Linked DNA regions of Homo sapiens: region 1 is linked to region 2. The links are contacts of gene promoters, found by promoter capture Hi-C in blood cells and fetal thymus (Javierre and others, 2016). All regions are on one chromosome and are shown on one strand. The core of a region is centred on a gene start or on the middle of the fragment in contact, and the rest is flanking DNA. Distances in the headings are between cores, read along the strand shown.

The links. The method cuts DNA at HindIII sites, captures the fragments that hold promoters and counts their contacts. A CHiCAGO score of 5 or more calls a contact.
Region 1: a contact is called between the fragment with the promoter of YIF1B here and the fragment with the promoter of SAMD4B in region 2, in 4 of 17 cell types (total CD4 T cells, total CD8 T cells, fetal thymus and 1 more). The highest score is 7.7, in total CD4 T cells.

The regions. Positions count from the first base shown.
Region 1 is chr19:38,314,247-38,319,919 of GRCh38, forward strand. YIF1B (Yip1 interacting factor homolog B, membrane trafficking protein) reads right to left here and starts at 1,701. Exons shown (of 8, transcript NM_001039672.3): 1 at 1,614-1,701. The coding sequence starts at 1,671. It overlaps KCNK6 (potassium two pore domain channel subfamily K member 6), which reads left to right and starts at 5,599. Exons shown (of 3, transcript NM_004823.3): 1 at 5,599-5,673. RefSeq lists a silencer at 1,536-2,025 and an enhancer at 5,427-5,673. The HindIII fragment of the contact is 4,086 bases long and covers 1,041-5,126 here.
Region 2 is chr19:39,338,687-39,344,642 of GRCh38, forward strand. SAMD4B (sterile alpha motif domain containing 4B) reads left to right here and starts at 3,735. Exons shown (of 14, transcript NM_001384574.2): 1 at 3,735-3,890. RefSeq lists a silencer at 3,424-3,853. The HindIII fragment of the contact is 6,593 bases long and covers 1-4,107 here.

The sequences.
Region 1 (5,673 bases), core at 451-2,950, 1.0 Mb before region 2:
TGCAGTGGTGAAATCTCGGCCCACTGCACCCTCCACCTCCCAGGTTCAAGCAATTCTTCTGCTTCAGCCTCCTGAGTAGCTGGGACTACAGGCGCACACCACCACGCCCAGCTAAATTTTCTATTTTTAGTAGAGATGGGGTCTCACCATGTTGGCCAGGCTGGTCTCGAACTCCTGACCTCGTGATCCTCCCACCTCGGCCTCCCAAAATCCTGGGATTATAGGTGTGAACCACTGCGCCCAACCTAATTTTTTTGCATTTTTAGTAGAGATGGGGTTTCATCATGTTGGCCAGGCTGGTTGGCTGGGCACCGTGACTCATGCCTGTGATCCCAGCACTTTGGGAGGCCAAGGCAGGTGGATCACCCTCTTTTTTTTTTTTTTTTTTTTTTTTTGAGGCGAAGTCTTGCTCTGTCGCCCAGGCTGGTGCAATCTCGCCTCAGTGCAACCTCTGCCTCCTGGGTTCAAGTGATTCTCAAGCCTCAGACTCCCAAGTAGCCGGGATTACAGGTGCTCGCCACCACACCCGGCTAATTTTGTGTACTTTTATTAGAGATAGGATTTTGCTGTTACCCAAGCTGGTCTCCAACTCCTGGCCCCAAGTGATTCGCCCACCTCGACCTCCCAAAGTGCTGAGATTATAGGTGTAGGCCAGCACGCCCAGCCTGCCCTCTCACTACAAATCTCCTTCTCCTGGGTAACTTTTCATGATCAGAATTATCCTCTTCCATGCCGGGTGCGGTGGCTCACGCCTGTAATCCCAGCACTTTGGGAGGCCTAGGCGGGCGGATCACCTGAGGTCGGGAGTTTGAGACCAGCTTGACCAACATGGAGAAACCCCGTCTATACCACCCCGGGCGTGGTGGCCTGCGCCTGTAATCCCAGCTACTTGGGAGGCTGAGGCAGGAGAATCGCTTGAACCCGGGAGGCGGAGGTTGCGGTGACCTGAGATCGCGCCATTGCACTCCAGCCTTGGCAACAAGAACAAAACTAGGTCTCAAAAAAAAAAAAAAAAGAAAAAGAAGTATCCTCTTCCAGGAAGCTTCACTGACACCCCTAGGCTGGGTCATGTGCCTCCTCAGGGCTCCCACAACATCTCCATCCCAACACAGGGCCTGACACATGGGAGTTGAGACAAGTTAGGTTGAATGAATAAATGAAACACACAGCACACTCACGGAGATGAAGAGACAGGAAAAGGGGGCCAACAGCACAATACAGGTTCGCTTCTTAAATGAGCGGTAGGCATGGCCCTCTGCGCTCCCGGGGGGCCACGAAGCTGTCCTAAGGGTGTGGGCGACAGCAGGCGGGTACTGGGGAGCCACGGAAGGGTGGGGAGCAGGGAAGGGCGGATCGCTAACTGCAAATGAATGAAAGTTGCATTTCTCTGCATATCGCACGCTATCCAGTCCCAAGTTGTTTTCTTCTAAAGGAATTTCCTAAAGAATCGCCCCCCAAGGGGCCTCCTACCCGAACCTGGCATCCCAGCGCTGTGCACACCTCAGGGTTCCAGATCCTTGATCTCGTGACCTCTGACCTGCAGTGACCTCGCCAACCGACGCGGCCGCCCCGCCACGCCCCCGCCCGCCCGATCTCCTCCGCCGGCCACGTACGCCACTTACGCAGCCGGGGCGTCCCCGCAGCCGCCGCCGCCAAGCCTGCCGGGTGCATCCTTCGCCGCCGCCACCTAAGCCGCGGTTCGGAGCGTGCCCGCCCGGCTCCCGTACCCACGCCCCGCCGGCGAAGAGACAGCCAATGGACGTCAGGATTGAGGGAAGGCCTCGCCCCCACCCCCCCGACCCCTCCAGCCCCCCCCTTCACGGAGGCCTGGACGACTGGGCGGTGCCTTACGTAAGAGGCGGAGACTGGGCTACTGGGCTCATGCAGTAAAGCGAGTCAAGGCCTGAGTGGCAGGAGGGCGAGGCCGGGACCAATCCCAGGAGGAGGCGGTGTCTGCCACGACAGAAAATGAGTGTCTGCCCCTTGCCGGGGCTCACGCCCCTAACTCCAGCACTTTGGGAGGCCGAGGCGGGAGGATTGCTTCAGCCCAGGGATTCGAGACTAGCCTGAGCAACATAGTGACCCTCGCCCCGCCCCATCCCTACAATTTTTTTTTTTTTTAATTTAGCCAGGCTCAGTGGCTTAACGCCTGTAATCTCAGCACTTTGGAAGGCTGAGGATCGCTTGAGCCCAGGAGTTCGAGACCAGCCTGGGCAACAGCGAGATCTCCATCGCTACAAAACATTTTTTAAAATGTAAATATCGAGCGAAAAGGTCGATGGGAAATGCAGTTCTCTGCAGACAGCCGTTCAGTTTGGGTCATTGAGAGCACTGGAGAGCCAGAAAAGGCTGTGGAGCAAGGAAAAGAGAAACATTTGTGTTCCTGAGGGGCTAATTGGAGTTGTAGGGGCTTATACAATTTTTGACATCCCTTAGGTATTAAAGTAAATATTTATTTATTTTGAGACAGGGTCTTCCTCTGTTTTCCAGGCTGCCTCGGACCCCCTGAGCTCAAGTGATCCTCCTGCCTCAGCCTCCCCAGTAACTGGCACCACAGGCATGCACCACCATGCCCAGCTAATTTTTAAATTTTTTGTCAAAACAGGATCTTGCTATGTTGCCCAGGCTGGTCTCGAATTCCTGGGCTCAAGCCATCCTCCTGCTTCAGCCTCCTAAAGCATTAGGATTACAGACATGAGCCACAGTGCCCGGCCTTAAAGTGAATATTTAGAGTGAGAAAAGGAAACCCAACAAGTTAGGTGAGAAGAACCAGGTGTCTCTCTTGGAATAGATCTTAAGGCAGTTTCCCAGAAATTCATAAAAATGTTCTCACATTGCAACCTGGTTCCCTCTGTCCACCAAAAGCATTCTACAACCCCCAGCAACTCACAGCACACAGGCGCACCTGCAAGTGAAGAGCCCTGCCCACCTAGCGTCCTTAGTCTCTCCTCTCTCTGACTCTCAGTCTCCCCCCTTCTCTCCCTCTCAGACTCCCCGACTTATCTCAGGAAAACATAGTGGTGGAAGTTACTTCTGCGCAGCGATAGCGCATCCGGAAGGATGTCAGCAAGTGACCCTATCGCTGTGGCTTCCTCTTCCTCCTCTGAGACGTTGTCTTTTTGGAGACCTTAAGGGCTGCTCCTGGTTTCTCAGTGATGAGTGCTGGCTCCACTGTGGTTCCTTTTTGTGAGCGAAATGCCCGCATTCTTCTTCACCTCTGATTTAGCCTCTGTCCCCTGGGCTCCAACACCATTTTCTCCTCATCCTCAGCCCTCTCTTGCTCTGGTTGCTCCAGATACATCTCTTCCATAAATGTTTTTTTTTTTCTTATTGCTTTTTTGTTTGTTTTTTGAGATGGAGTCTTGCTCTGTCGCCCAGGCTGGAGTGCAGTGATGCGATCTCGGCTCACTGCAACCTTTGCCTCCTGGGTTCAAGTGATTCTCCTGCTTCAGCCTCCCGATAGCTGAGATTACAGGCGTGTGCCATCGCACCTGGCTAATTTTTTGTATTTTTAGTAGAGACAGGGTTTCGCCATGTTGGCCAGGCTGGTCTCGAACTCCTGACCTCAGGTGATCCACCTGCCTTGGCCTCCCAAAGCACTGAGATTACAGGCATGAAACACCGCACCCAGCCTTATGTATATATATTTAATTAATAAAGCAAGTACTGCCAAGTGCAGCGGATCACGCCTGTAATCCCAGCACTTTGGGAGGCCAAGGCGGGCAGATCACCTGAGGTCAGTTTGAGACCATCCTTGCCAACATGGCGAAACCCTGTCTCTACTTAAAATACAAAAATTAGCTGGGTGTTGTGGCGGGCATCTATAATTCCAGCTACTTAGGAGGCTGAGGCAGGAGAATTGCTTGAACCCAGGAGGCAGAGGTTGCAGCGAGCCGAGATTGTGCCATTGCACTCCAGCCTGGGAGACAGAGCGAGACTCTTGTCTCAAAAAAAAAAAAAAAAAAAAAAAAAAAGCAAGTTCATTAGTTCATTGGCTTCCTGCTGGCCTCATGTTCACCCCTTACCAGTTGTGTGACTACTACTTTTTATTTTTTTGAGGCAGGGTCTACTCTATCACCCATACTGGAGTGCAGTGGTGCGACCATAACTCATTGCAGTCTCTAATTCCTGAGCTCAAACGATCCTCCTGCCTCAGCCTCCCGAGTAGCTGGGACTACAGACGCATGCCACCACACTTGGCTAATTTTTGTATTTTTTGTCGAGATGGGGTTTTGCCATGTTGCCCGAGCTGGTCTCAAATGACTACTTCATTTTTAAGCCTAAATTTTCTCATCTGTTTAGTGGGAATTATATTGGGACGGGGTTGAGAATTCAGTGCAAGTTCAGGTGTCCACAGGGCCTGGCAGAATGTAAGCCTTCGATCACTGGCACCTATTGTGTTACTGATTCTATTATCAGGTGCCTCTGCTTCTGGATTGTCAACCCCAAGTTGGGCTCTGCCCGGTGATCTGCCAGCTCTTTAATAGAACCAGCTGGGACATGTCTGAGCTGAGCCCCAAGCCCCACTCCTCTGCCAGTCGGATGGGGTTAGGACTCTGGGCTGCCCTCCAAAAGGCTGTCAGGAAGGCGCTGAGTTCTGGCTGGAGGCAGAAGTGGAGAGACTTACGGGGGGGCGCAGAAAGAAAAATTTCCTCTTAAATAGAGGCGTGTATTTGTGATTCTGCCTGGCTTGTTTCCATTCATCCTTCATGCTTCAGCTCAGCTAGCCCCTTCCTCAGGAAGCTCTCTTGACCTCCCTAGGCAGGGGTGGTTGCTTCCTCTGGACTCCCAGGGCCCTCTAGGGCTCCCTGATTCCAGGCTTGATCATTGTACCCTTGCTTCCCTCATCACAGCCCTGACCACTCTGGGCTGTCTTTTTTCTTTTTTTTAGAGATAGGGTCTCACTCTCTCCCAGGCATAGCTCACTGCAGCCTCGAACTCCTGGGCTCAAGCAATCCTCCGACCTCAGCCTCCCGAGTAGCTGGGACAACAGGCGTGGGTCACTCTTGTGTCAGTCTCCCAGTTAGACTGGGAGCCCCATGAATGCATGGCGCAGGATGGTCTCATCATTACTGAGTCTCCAGGATCATCCAGCGAGGGGTCAGCAGAAAGTGGGCATTGAACAAAGCTTTGGTGAGTAGCTGAGGATCCCCACTCTGTCCACACGGGCACAGGGGACACCTGACTCTGTGGTGTCCGCTGTTCCCACTCCGAGGCTCACAACTTGGCGAATGGAGCGAGAATTGGATTTCAGTTTGCCCCTTGCTCCGTCAGCCGCGCGCCCTGATGCAGTGCACAACCTTAGCTGCTGTGCGCGATGGGGGGCGACTCCTCGGCCTGCGAGCAGAGAGGAAAGTTCAGATTCTTCTAACATAGAGAACCAGCCTTCCAGGAGGACGAGAAGGAAGGAATGAGGGGAAGAGAGGACTACCTCCACCCTTTCCATCCCGTTGGTCTGCTGGGTCTGGGAGCACTGGGCTCCACCCTCTCCGAACGAACACCTGGCGGTTGGGCGTGCCTCAGTTTCCCGGAGGCGGGGCATTCCTCCGTCGCCGCCCCCCACCTCCCCTTTTTCCTCTTCCTCTTGGGGCATCTGCTGCCGCGCCTGTAGCACTCCCGGAACTGGAACTAGGTGCCAGACGGTCCGGAGGCGGGGGCCACGTCAGCGGGGCC
Region 2 (5,956 bases), core at 2,485-4,984:
TCCCAAGTAGCTGGGATTACAGGCGTGAGCCACCACACCCGGCTAATTTTTTTTTTTTTTTCTTGAGATGGAGTGTCTCTCTGTCACCCAGGCTGGAGTGCAGTGGCACAATCTCGGCTCACTGCAACCTCCACCTCCCAGGTTCAAGCAGTTCTCCTGCCTCAGCCTCATGAGTAGCTGGGATTACAGGTGTGCGCCACCACAACCAGCTAATTTTTGTATTTCTAGTAGAGACGGGGTTTCACCATGTTGGTCAGGCTAGTCTCGAACTCCTGACCTCGTGATCAGCCCACCTCAGCTTCCCAAAGTGCTGGGATTACAGGTGTGAGCCACCGCGCCTAGCCATATTTTTGTATTTTTAGTAGAGACAGGGTTTTACCATGTTGGCCAGGCTGGTCTCAAACCCTCCCATGGGCCAGACACAGTGGCTCATGCCTGTAATCCCAGCACTTTGGGAGGCCAAGGCAGGAGAATTGCTTGAGACCAGGAGTTCAAGACCAGCCTGGGCAACATAGCAAGACCTTGTCTCTACAAAAAAATTTTAAAAGTAGCCGGGCATGGTGGCATGTGTCTGTAATCCCAGGTACCAGCTACTTGGGAGGCTGAGGTTGGGAGGATCACTTGAGCCCAGGAGTTTGAGGCTGCAGTGAGCTAGGATCACACCACTGCACTCCAGCCCAGGTGACAGAGTAAGATCCTATCTCTAAAAACCAAACAGCAGGCCAGGCGCAGTGGCTCACGCCTGTAATCCCAACACTTTGGGAGGCCGAGGCAGGCAGATCACTTGAGTCCAGGAGTTCAAGACCAGCCTGGGCAACATGGTGAAACCCCATCTCTACTAAAAATACAAAACTTAGCCAGGTTTGATGGCATACGGCTGTAGTTCCAGCTACTCCAGAGGCTGAGGCAGGAGAATCACTTGAACCCAGGAGGCAGGGGTTGCAGTGAGCCGAGGTTGCAGTGAGCCGCGATCGCACCACTACAATCCAGTCTGGGCAACAGAGTGAGACCCTGCCCCCCCCCCCCACACACACACACACACACACACACACACACACCAACAATGACTAAAATACTAAGTTATCTGTCACCACCCCTACCCCATTGCCTCTTGGACCTTGTCCTTCACTGCCCTCTTTTGCTCACTCCACTCCAGCAATGCTGGCCCCTTTGTGGTTCTGTGAATGATCCTACTACATGGCCTTTGCACTTGCTGTTTTCTCTTTCTGGAACCCACTTTCTCCTTCATTCCTTCAGATTTCTGTTTCAGTCTCACCTAATGAAAGAGGCCTTTCCCCATGTAAATTAATTCTGGCTGCATTACTCCATTCCCTTAGCTGCTTTCTTGTTATTTATTTGTTTATTTATTTAGAGACATAGTCTCGCTCTGTCACCTGGGCTAGAGTGCAATGGCAAATCTCGGCTTATTGCAACCTCCGACTCCTGGGTTCAAGTGATTCTCCTGCCTCACCCTCCTGAGTAGCTGGAACTACAGGCACGCATCACTATGCCCAGTTAATTTTTGGCATTTTTAGTAGAGACAGGGTTTTGCCACTTTGGCCAGGCTGGTCTCAAACTCCTGGCCTCAAGTGATCCACCAGCCTCAGCCTCCCAAAGTGCTGGGATTACAGGCATGAGTCACCATGCCCAGCCACTGCTTTCTTTTTCTCCTTGGTACTTATCACGAAGTTACACTGTATTTCCTTATTGTTTGTGTCCCCAAGAACTAGAATGTAAGTCTTTTTGTTTTTTTTTTGTTTTTTTTTTGAGACGGAGTTTCACTGTTGTTGCCCAGGCTGGAGTGCAATGGCACGATCTTGGCTCACTGCAACCTCCGCCACCCGGGTTCAAGCGATTCTCTTGCCTCAGCCTCCCAAGTAGCTGGGACTACAGGCATGTGCCACCACGCCCCGCTAATTTTGTATTTTTAGTAGAGATGGGATTTCACCATGTTGGTCAGGCTGGTCTCGAACACCTGCCTCGGCCTCCCAAAATGCTGGGATTACAGGTGTGAGCCACCGCGCTCATCCTATTGTTGTGTTTCTAGCACCTTAAGCAGAGCCTGGCACATATTAGATAGTCAAGAAATATTATTGAATGAATTAATGAACCAGCAGTTAATGAGCACAATAATTCTATGCAGTGTGAAGGCTGTTGCTTAAATGCAGGAGGTAGTGGATGGGGTTTGTGACATGGCCCCACCCTGGTGAAACAGCCTTTCCTCAAAGCGTCTATAATGCCACACTCTCCTGGTTTTCCTCTCTCTGGCTGCCTTTTGCAATATTCATCGACAGCGTCAATTCCTTTGCTCAAATCCTGCCTCTCTGTTTCAGGGTTCTGTTCAGTCCCTGTCTCCAGTGACCCTTCATACCCTCCCCGGGCTAGACCCCTAACTCCCACAGCCTCAATTACCATCTTTGACGATCCTTAAATCTTGGTCTCCAGCCTCAATTTCTCCCTTAAGCTCCAGACCCAGGGTTTGTGCACCTCCTGGACCTCGCTACTAGGCATCCACATTGGGCTTAGTATCTTCCCAACCTGCTTCTGGCGCCCAGTCTCCCGGCTAGAGGGGCCTGGTCCTAAACTTTTCTCCCCCTTCCACTCCATAGCCAGCCAGTGTCAGGGCCCGTTCGCTCTGCCTCCAGGGCGTCCCTCCCACCTGCACCTCCTTCCCTCCCCACAGTCCCTCCCTCGTGCAAACCCCCTCTTTCTTCCCCACCCCCTCCCCCAGCTGCCTCCCTGGACTCCCGATCCCGTTTCATTCCCTCCAATCCGCCCTCCATGTATAAGCCAGAGAGACATCTCTCCAAAACCCCAGACTCACCATGATCCTCCCCGGCTTGAAGCCCTTCACGGCTCCCTAGTGCCCTCGGGACAAGTCCAAACTCCCTCAAGTGGCCAAACAACTGGCCTCTGCTCGTTCCTCACCCCTCCCTGTCTTCAACTCGACCCTCCATCCCGACTGCCTCTCTAAGTGCCTGTAACAAGCCAGATCTCTGTCACCGAGAGCCTTCTGAACACAGGTCCCTCTGATTAGTTCACCCGGACCCAATACAGTTTGTGGAACGCACAGATCACAACCAAAGTCACAGCAACAACTCCCGTTTATTGACAGCCTCCTTGATCCTTAGCGCTTTCTGTGCATTCTCTTCCCACCCTAAAGGCTAGATCTCGCCTCGCCATTCCCATCGGAGAGAGCAAGCGGCAAGGCTGAGAACAGCGCGATGAGAAAGCCGAGCGCCCAGAAGCCCGAGTGCAGACGCCCACTGAGGACAGCCTTGGGTGAGGCGGGCCACCCAAGGGGCGGGGAAGAGGAGGCCTGGAACGCCTGAATCAGGAACTGTGACTTCGCTCGGGGCAGCTGGGGTGGACGCGCGCGAGCCTGCCCCCTGCGGGCCTGGAGGCCCAACCTCAGACTCCGCCGGGCCCGTTGCCCTGGGCAACGCCCCGCGCGCCCCGCCCCTTCCCCGCCCCCCAGCCCCAAACCCCAGGCCTGGCCGACTGCCCGTCACCCCCACGTCCGACCAATCCCGCCGAGGAGGGGGCGGGCCTCTTGGGCCCCGTTCCACCACCGTCGCTCCCCCCTCGCCGCGACCCCGCCTTACTCGGCTCACACCTCCCGCCCTTCGGGCTGCCCTCGCCGCCCGTTGGCTGGCGCGCCGTTCGTCACCCGGGCGTGAGCTAATGCCGGCGCGCGGCGGCCCCCGTCGGGGCGGGGCCAGGGGCGGTGACGCACGGCGCGGTGACGCAGCGCGACGGCGGCGGCGGCGGCGGCGGCGGTGGTCGGTGCGGGAGGAGGGAGGGGAGCTTGCGGGCCCGAGAGGGGGCGACGGCGGCGGCGGTGGCCTGAGGAGGCCCGAGCGGCGGCGGTGGCGGCGAAGGCCGAGGCGGTGAGTCTCGGGCCGGGCCGGCGCGGGGCGGCGGCGAGTCGGGGCGCGCGGGGCTCCCCTCAGGGCGACCCAGGCCGCGCGGGCGGCCCCGCCCCCTCAGGGACCCCGAACCGCGGGCGGCGGCGGCGGGCGGGTGCGGAACGCGGGCCTCGGGGGGCCGGGCCCCACGGGAGAAGCCCCGCGCCCGTCCCCAGTCTCCCTCCTGGGCCCTGGCCGAAGCTTCCCTCCGAAATCTTTCTCATGCCCTCGGGATTGCCGAGGGGCCGGGCCGGGGGCCTCTCCTCAGGACCCCCCGCACATCCCCCTCGGAGAGCCCCGGAAAGCCTGCCGATCCCCCGTGTGCGCCCTGAAAGGTCCCCGCAAAACCCACCCCTCCCGTGGAGTCGCCTCCTCGAGCCCTTCATGGGTCCCAGCAGCTTTCCTCGCAGACCCCCGCCCTTTGGCCCCGAAGCCCCCGTCCTCCTCCTGTCTCCAGAAATAGTCCTCGGAGGCCACTCCTCGTCCATTCCACAGCGTGGCTCTCATAGCTGCTCCAGGAGCCTCCCTCACGAGCCCTGCACACCTCCCCAAGGCTCCCTCCGGACCCCTGTCCATTCCAGAACTCTCCCCCGGAGCCCTGCCTCTCACAGCCCAACAGGCTCACCCGACTTCCCCCTCCCGGATCCTAAGAATTTTCCCTCCCACTTACCCCATTCCAGAAACCTCCTTGGAGATTTTCCGCTCATACCCCCTGCATTTCTGATTCCCCCTCCCAGAAGTCCTTCAGAATGCCCCCGACGGACCGTGATCATCTTCCCTGAAGATCTCCTTCCCATATCCCCAAAATAAATCTTCCTCACAGACTTTGTGAAATGCCCCCAGATCCCAAAAACTCACCTAGAAGACTCCATCCCCCTCCCCACCGTATTGCAACCATCTCTCATACACACTCCCCCTTCACGTATCCCTCTGGACCTTTCCACAGATCCCAAAAGTCTCCCCCAGAGGCCTCCTGTCTCCCCCTGGTCTCACCACCCTAAAATGCCCTAGAGATCACCCTCATGTAGCCCAGTGATCTTCACCGGGATCCCCTTCCCCACCCCCACTCATTCTAAAAATCTCCAGCAATTGCCTGAAATCTCCAGAGGACTCTCAGCATCATATTCCAAAAGCTTCTTCCAAAATCCCTTTTACATACTCCACATCTTTTCCAGTCCCCCACATCACACGCTCCAAAAATTGTTTAAGGATCCTGAAAACTTTCCTCATGGTTTTTCTCTCAGATCCCGTAGAACTCCCCTTCACTAACACCTCAGAATCCCCCCTTGCAGACCGGTTTTAGAGGAATTTTCTGAAGATCCTCCTCACAACCCCTGTAAGACCGTAAGATTCTCTTGGTGACCCCTCTGATATGCAGGTTTTCAGGACCCCCCCCCCCCACACACACACACAGCTTAGAGACCCCAGCGACCCCCTGGAGCCCTCCTGACGTATGTTCTTGAAATCCCTCCAAGACCTTCCTGACACCACCAGAACCCCTTGAATCAATACTTCTGCCTTACTAAGGGACTTTTCTAGAGATATCCCTCCCTGAACTTGCTCACACAGGTCCCCTAAATCCTCTAGAATCCCTTGAAGAAGACCCTCACACACACCTAATTTTCCCCCAAAATAACCCGAGCTCTTGCTCTGAGAAAGTCCTATAATTCTTTCTGAAAAACCCTCTCCTCTGACACTCTCTCAGAAGACCCCGCCTTCCCCATATACTCTTTTGGAGACTTTACTCAGCTTTCTCCTCAACTGAGATCTCTGAAGAGTTTTTCCTAAAAACATCCCTCTGTCATCCCACTCCAGGACCAGTCTCAGAAGACCACACCTTCCTCAGACACTTTTTAGAGAATTTTCTCCCAAATTGCCCTCCATCAGCCACCCACTCCCAGCGCTTCCTGAGACTTCCTCAGAACTTTCCCTCAGATTCCACTTCTGACATCCCCAAGAAACATTATTTAGGACCCTATCAGATTTACCCACTAACTTTAGAATTGCTATTTACACCCTCTCATTTCCCCATTCTCTTTCCTCTGAAG